2 separate regions of the Homo sapiens genome follow, and region 1 is linked to region 2. Evidence: promoter capture Hi-C in 16 types of primary human blood cells and fetal thymus (Javierre and others, 2016). All regions are on one chromosome and are shown on one strand. The core of a region is centred on a gene start or on the middle of the fragment in contact, and the rest is flanking DNA. Distances in the headings are between cores, read along the strand shown. Region 1 overlaps LINC00861 (long intergenic non-protein coding RNA 861). Region 2 holds the start of LRATD2 (LRAT domain containing 2).

Evidence for each region. Contacts are between HindIII fragments. The CHiCAGO score rates a contact against its expected background, and 5 or more counts as called.
Region 1: a contact is called between a fragment that was not itself captured here and the fragment with the promoter of LRATD2 in region 2, in 2 of 17 cell types (M1 macrophages and M2 macrophages). The highest score is 6.0, in M1 macrophages.

The regions. Positions count from the first base shown.
Region 1 is chr8:125,928,324-125,932,070 of GRCh38, reverse strand. All of the region lies in intron 3 of LINC00861 (long intergenic non-protein coding RNA 861), which reads left to right. Among named protein-coding and RNA genes, the nearest start is that of LINC00861, 21 kb to the left of the region's middle. The HindIII fragment of the contact is 4,485 bases long and covers 1-3,747 here.
Region 2 is chr8:126,557,151-126,560,910 of GRCh38, reverse strand. It overlaps LRATD2 (LRAT domain containing 2), which reads left to right and starts at 2,433. Exons shown (of 2, transcript NM_174911.5): 1 at 2,433-2,877; 2 at 3,426-3,760. The coding sequence starts at 3,522. It overlaps LOC105375751 (a long non-coding RNA gene), which reads right to left and starts at 3,035. Exons shown (of 6, transcript NR_188069.1): 1 at 2,980-3,035. RefSeq lists a silencer at 2,301-2,480 and an enhancer at 2,195-3,031. The HindIII fragment of the contact is 2,746 bases long and covers 405-3,150 here.

The DNA of each region.
Region 1 (3,747 bases), core at 267-2,766, 630 kb after region 2:
CCCGTATTTACATCTTCAACCTTGACACCTTCACCAGCTCCAAAGTTATGGTATCCTGTTGCCTACTTGATGTTTCCACTGAGAAGGCCAACAGTGTTTCTAACGAATATACCCCTAGTCTTCTTCCTTGAGCCTGCCTTCCAGCAGTATTCTCCATCTCAGTTCAAAATGGACACATCCTTTTCTAGTATCTCAAACATTATTGGCAATCTCATCTCTTATATCTCAATCTGTGAGGAAACACTGTTGTGCTCTACTTTCAAAATATTTACAGACAGCAACACCTTCTCATCTCCCACCCCTTTACCATTGTTTACCTGAATTGTTACCAAAGTATGCACAGTTTATTCCCCACATGGCAGCCAGAGGGCTCCTTTTAGAATGGAAGTCAGATCATGGCACTCCTCTTTCACAACCCCAGAACAGCTCTCTCTTTCACTCAAAGCAAAACTCAAAGTTATTACAAGAAAATATCCTATTGAACTTCCCAAGTCCTCTCTGACTTCATCTCCTGCTAATTTCCCTCTTGCTCACATTCCTCTAGCTACCATGTTCTCCTTTTTATTTATTTTAGTTATCTATTGCTCCATAACAAGCCACCCAGAATTAAGCAGTTTAAAACAATTTGTTATATTCTCTATTGGGTCTGTGGATTAACTGACTTCAACTGGGCATTTGTGCTTTAAGGCTTCTTGTGTGGTTACAGTCCAATGTCAGCTGAGTCTGAAGTCATCTGAAGGATCCATGGGCTGATGTCCACGGTAGCTTGCTCACTCCAGTGACTGACAGTTGATGCTGAGAGCTGAGCTGGGATTGTGGACAAGAGCACCTACATGCCTCTGGCCATGGCCTTTCCACATGCCTTGGGCTTCTTATAGCATAGCAGCTATGGCATTCAGTGTTCTGAGGGTCAGAGTCCCAAGAGCAAGTGTTATAGGAGGCAGGAAGTAGAAATTGCCAAGCCAGTTAAAGACTATGCTTGGAACTGGCCCATCAACACTTCTACCATATTCTACTGGTTAAAGCAGTTACCAGTCCTGCCAGGATTTGAGGGCATGGAGTAATAAACTCCACTTGCTCATGGTAACATGGCAAGGTCACATTGCAAAGGAGCATGTGGGATAGAAGATATTATCAGGGAAGTCTCTGGAAAATCCTATTCTTCAAACACAACAGCTGCACTCTTACCTCAGTGCTTGCAGTAGCTTTTCCCTCTGCCTAAAATGCTTTTCTCTTGATATCAGCATGTTTTGCTTCCTCACAGCTTTCTAGACTTTGCTCTCTCACTTACTTCAACTCTGCTATTATGTCACCTTCTCAATGAGCTCTTCCTGGACCACTCTACTGAATATGACACATAAACAGTCTCCTTGGTGATCAAGGGCTCACCATTGCCCATTAACGTTGGCTTGACCAAACTTCAGCCAGACTTCTCCCCTCCCTACAGGCCCCTACATTTTGACTTGCCCTCAAGTTTAAATAAGCACTAAGCACCTCAGGTGCAGAATATCCTCCTCAACACTCATTCCGAGAATCAGCCGACCACAAAGAAAAACATTTCTCTGCTGAAGCAACCTGATTTTGCCACCTTCTTACCCTGCCCTCTTGCCTTTTGCCCCTACAAACTTCCCTGTCAGTTTTACCTCTCCCTCTCTCCAAAAGATATGTCCTCTTCTGTTTGACTTTGAGACACTTGAGATTTCTGAGATGGAAGCATTCTCCCTGCTGTTTAACTAAAGTTTCCATTTACCTAAGTCTGCATTCATTTTGATTGAACACCTAGCACTCTCAATATTGTTTATCCTAAACCCGTTTTTCACATTACACAATACCTTTTACATACTAAATGTCATCTCTATTTAACTTCAACTATTTATTATGTTTATTGTCTCTAGCCCTCCATTAGGATATAAACTGCCTGACAGCAGGATGCCTTTCTGTTTCATCTGTTGAATTCCCATCACCTACTACAAACATGATAAGTGCTCAAAAAGCCTTTGTGAATTTAATGGATAAATTTACTCTTACCTGTGATGTGATATGAGCAGGTTTTGTCTAATACATAGATACAGAATAAAGAAATATTCGCTACTGGTTCTGCCAGGATCTCATTCTCCACTCCAGTTAACTGAATCTCTGACATGTTCCTTGAGCTTGTTTCAAATTCTTGTTTCAAGCATCTAACTCCTATAAAACTGTCCTGTTTTTCTTTGCCCTTCCTAACTTCTTTTCCTCTCTGCCCTTCAACTCAGCTCAGATACTGGGGCTTCATGATTTGTGGACAGTTGTCCCTGATGCAGTTAACCCACAGGCTTTTCAATCATTTCCTCTGAGTAGATCCCTGTGCACTTCTGTTAAACTCAGATCCCAGCTGTACCAGCCACCTGTCTAGCCCTTCCCTATCAGATCCCAGGTATACCAGCCATCTGTCCACCCCAGCTTTCCCTCCTTCCTTGGGCAGGTACCATTCCTGTTTCTGACACCTCCAGTCATCCATGTCCTACTTTAGTGAACAAAGTGCCTTATAACCACATCCTAGACAAAAGAAAAGAAGTATCATTGCTTTATGATCATGCATAGATAATATTTGTGGAGTGAATTTGTGTCAGAAAGATCTGGAGGCACAGTGGTTTTACATTCTAAGTTATTCCCCTATTCCAAGGACTTTGGCAAAGGAAGGGGAAAGAATCAAAAGTTTTATGATAATCATAATGAGTTTCAGGTCATGACCACATAATTCACCTTGTTATTACACACTGCTGATCCTTTAAGTAAAATACCAGAGCCCCAGTAAAACAAATGAGATACCAATGCCTGAGGATTTCACCCAAGCATCACTAATTAAGGGTTATCTTCTAATGCATTCAAGCTACACAAGTCTCTTGAGTTTGCATAATTGAGCTGGAAATCAGTTGAAGGAAATTTATGGGATTTTTAGCCCAGGAGGGAAAGCAAGAAAGTTGGAAAACTCAAAACCATGGGGAAACAAAACAAAAACACACAAAAAAAACTTCCTTCACATTGAAAAATGAAGGTTTTGTTTCTGACTCTTTTTTTTTTATGTAAGAAAAGTCTTACACTATCTTTTATATCCTCTTTGTCTTGTTTTCCAATTTTTAGACCTCCAAATGAGGTAGAGGGTGAAAGAAAGAGCATTAGAATCCAAGTCAGAAGTCTTGGGTTATACCTTCCCCCTACTCAATAACTGAGTCTCATATATGAAATATAAATAAAAATTACTGTATCTACTCCATGGAGTAATAATGTGGATTAAACAAGAGGACGAATTGAAAATACAACAAGTCCTCGATGTCATCCACAGGTTCTTGAAAACTGTGACTTTAAGTGAAAGGATTTATAACAAAATAGGTTCATTGATACAAACAAACTTCCTACAGCATATTTTTGGTCACAGAAACATCACCAAACTTCTAAAAAAAAAACCAAAGCACTTCTAATGGTAAACACTGAAACAAATGTGAGTGTGCTGTCTCTCTCTCTTTCTCTCATATATATTTTTATATATATAAAATGTATATGAAAAATCTTTCATATATAATATTTCATATATATGAAAAATCTTTCATATATATAGTCTTTCAAATAAGATTATTTACCCCATTATTTCAGTTCAGGGTCTTGGGTGGTTGGAGCCTATCCCAGCACTTATGACCTGGACATAGAAGTCCATGGTGGCCTGCAACCTTGTTTGGAATTAGAATATGGAGCTGAACCCATTGTTGGCAT
Region 2 (3,760 bases), core at 1,184-3,683:
ATGGGTCTGATTGTCTCATATCTTTATTTTATTTACAGACAGAGTCTCACTCTGTCACCCAGACTGGAGTGCAATGGCGTGATCTCGGCTCACTGCAACCTCTGCCTCCCGGGTTCAAGCAATTCTCCTGCTTCAGCCTCCTGAATAGCTGGAATTATAGGCGCACCCCACCACTCCCGGCTACTAATTTTGTATTTTTAATAGAGATGGGGTTTCACCATGTTGGCCAGGCTGGTCTCGAACTCCTGATCTCAAGTGATCCTGCCTTGGCCTCCCAAAGTGCTGAAATTACAGGCATGAGCCACCACGCCCAGCCAAGTCTCATATCTTTAGATTTTTCAAATGAAACTGGGAATATGAATTTTTTAATATCTCCCAAGTTTTCAAATTGTTGACAACAAGCTTAAATTTATTAAACAACTATTTGAAATGAGCAAAGCATGTCTGAGAGCCATGTTGTAATCTCTGACCAAATGTTCCAGGTGACAAGACGGATGTTGAACCCTCAACAGGCATTCATGGAAGAATCTACACTAGACGCCAGCTATCAAAAGGCAACATTTCTTCACTCACTCACTCACAGCCCCATAAAACCAGGAAGCAATTCTTGACCTGTGGCCAAATTTTCCCCTAAGGCATCCATCAAGCATTTATTGAGTACCCACTCAGTGCCAGGCATTCAGATATAAAATGGATCAGGGCTTGTTCCCTCTGAGGCTTTATAGTTGGTCAGTTCAAGATATGTTGTTGAGCCACTATTGTGCACCTGAGAACAGCTCATCAAGACAAAAGGAGACACACCTAGTCAGCTAGGCATTGCTTCCTCACCCACCAGATCTCTGACCTAGAGTGCTGGTAGCAAATTGTCCTACAACTGTGTCCTCTCAGTTCAATTCTCCCATTCCCAGCCATCCCAGTAGCACCTAGGAGCAAAGTGGCCTCCCAAATCAGGCAGTAGCAGAGGTCTCCCAATCTGATGAACATAGGATGACCAGCCATAATCTCTATAAGCCTAACTCTTGTCTATAATATGGTGATCATATGATGGCAACAAATATCACTCAGGTAACAGCAGCCCCCCACACCATTTGCTATCAAAAGGACTGGGGTGTGTTGGATTCATTCAGTCACATGCGCCTGAGGCCAGCCAGTCTGAAATTATTGAAACAGAATCGCACAGCACACAGTAGTCTCATGTTGATCTAACTTATACTTCAGACTTGCTGAAGGACTAATTTCTATCACAGCCCTGCCAATATTGATTGTTTGGACTCAAAATTACATAAGTAGAATGATTTTTATTTTTTTCTCCTAAACTAGAAAGGATCACAGTAGTGCTAGTATATTCCTGTTTCCACTGGCTGGTTATACATGCTGGAAAAAATTAGTCAAAAGAAAGCAACTGAAGACAGAATATAGGTCTTGAATCGCATTCTTAAGTCCCCTACGAATAAGTCTGGGTGCTTGCAGTAGTGCCTAAACTTGTTTATTGTAAACAGAGCTGTTAATCCTCCACCCTCACCGGACCCATTATTTTAAAAAAATAAACAACAACAACAACAAAAAAAACACTTTGGTAGCCTACATTTAGGTAAAAGAAACGAAACCAGTGGAGAGGTGGAAGTGTCCTTTTGTGGTGGAGGTTAGTAGGCATTACTGGTCTCCTGTCACTTCCCTAAGTCAACAGGAAGGAAATATATCCACTAGGGCCTCTGCTAATTTGTTTCTAATTTAAGGACAATTAGAATTAGGATGTAGGAATTAGGCAATTCCTACATCCCCTAACCCCCCACCCCCCCAAAAAAAAGCAGTCAGAGCTGCACGCTTCTCTCACTATCCAACGAACTGGTACCTCTCTGGAAATAACGGAGGTTATGAACTTTGTACTAACTTCCAGGGGTATCTAATAAACAGAGCGGTGGTCTTGGGACCCAGTCAGTGAATAAGTCTTCGTTCTGTTTTATACTGTTTCTTTTCTGCGATTTTCTTTTCTACCCCAAAGTTTCCCACTACTAACTCTGAAAACACCTCTAGGATGACGCACTCTTCGAGCTGTCCTGGTGAAGAATCCTTTCTTGTGACCTTTAGGGCAAGAAATATGTTCCAGGAAAGAAAAGAAACGACTGTTCCTCCTTCTCCAGGTACTCTGGGAAAAAACAGGTCAAAGGGAAAAGGCGCAAACACCAAACTCTCCTTCCCTTTCTCATTTCCACACTGGCAAGTTGTGTTTGCCTTCTAACTTGTCTCGGAAGGCAAGCAGAGCTCACAGCACCAGCCCCAGGCGGCGGGTGGATTATTTACAGGGGGATTTAAACCCGCTCCGGCGCGGGGGCGTGGCCGGGCGGAGTCCCGAGGCCCGAGTGGGCGGGGCGGGGGCGGGGCTCCCGGCCGCTCGGCGCAATGTGAAAAAGACCCGAGCTCGGGGAGTGAGCGCCTGTCTCTTTAAATGCCACGGGCTGCGCTCCCGCCCGGGAGCCCGGAGCCGGATCTACAATCCCGTCCCTCCAGCTCCGGTGCTTGTTGCTCGCCCGGCCCAAGCGGGAGCTGTTGCCGCCAGGCTGCGAGGCTGCCGTCCTCTCCTCCTCGCGCCCCACCTCCCCCGAGAGCTGGCTGAGGAGGGGCAGCAGCCCCAGCTGGCGGGAGGAAGCGCGGTGTGAACAGGGATTGCCCCCCGCCTTCAAGTATCGGGGCGCTACGCAGCCGCGGGGGAAAGACATGCCCCTAGTCTGCCCGCTGCGCTGCCCTCTGCCCAGCCTCGCTGCCGCCCGCGCCGGGAGAGGAGGGACTGCCGAGCCTACACCTTCAAACTCGCCCTAGAAGTCTCGGGGCGCGGCAGGGAGCCCTTCCCCAGGCCCCACGGCCTTCACCTCTCCGCGGGTGAGTTTGTGCAGGTAACCCGAGCCTGAGGGCGGGCGCGGGGGAAGGGCGGGCGAGCCGGGAGGAGGTAGCGCTGCAGGTGAGCCAGGTAGGGTGACTCACCTGTCCAGGTCGCGCTCTGAGATCCTCGCTTGTTCCTCTGGGGATGGATGCGTTGGTGGGGAGGAGGCGTCCCCGGGGCTAGTTAGGGCCCGAGGGTGGGAGGGGAAGTTAGCAGAGGAGGGGGGGGATTGGCGTAAAGTTTCTCTTTCCTTCCCTCTTCCTGCCCAAGCTTGGCAGGTAGGGCGCAGGCGGAAGCAGTAGAAGCTGCTGATGCAATGGGCTTTTGCCAGGGCCAGGCGAAGGGCTGGGGACAGGGAGAACAGGAGTTGCCCAGTCTCCTGTGACCGTGACCTTACAGGTGGAGAAACGAGGGAAAGCTCGCTACACCCGAGACTTCCCCCTAAAATGGCTCCAGGTGCTGAGCCCCCACCGATTCTTTTTCGGAACAAAACGCCCTTTTCACGGAGGGGCTCCTGCATGGCTTTCTTGCCTTCCTCTCCCAACAGGTAGCCTCAGCCCCTGTCCGGGGACCTGTGCAAATGACCCTGGAGTTGGTTTCGCTTTCTCCCCTTGCGGCGGTGTGAACGTGTGTCCGCAGCGTGATGGGCAACCAGGTGGAGAAATTGACCCACCTAAGTTACAAGGAAGTTCCCACGGCCGACCCGACTGGCGTGGACCGGGACGACGGGCCCCGCATTGGGGTCTCCTACATTTTCTCCAATGACGATGAGGACGTGGAGCCGCAGCCGCCGCCTCAGGGGCCAGATGGCGGCGGCTTGCCCGACGGTGGGGACGGGCCGCCGCCGCCCCAGCCGCAGCCCTACGATCCGCGGCTGCACGA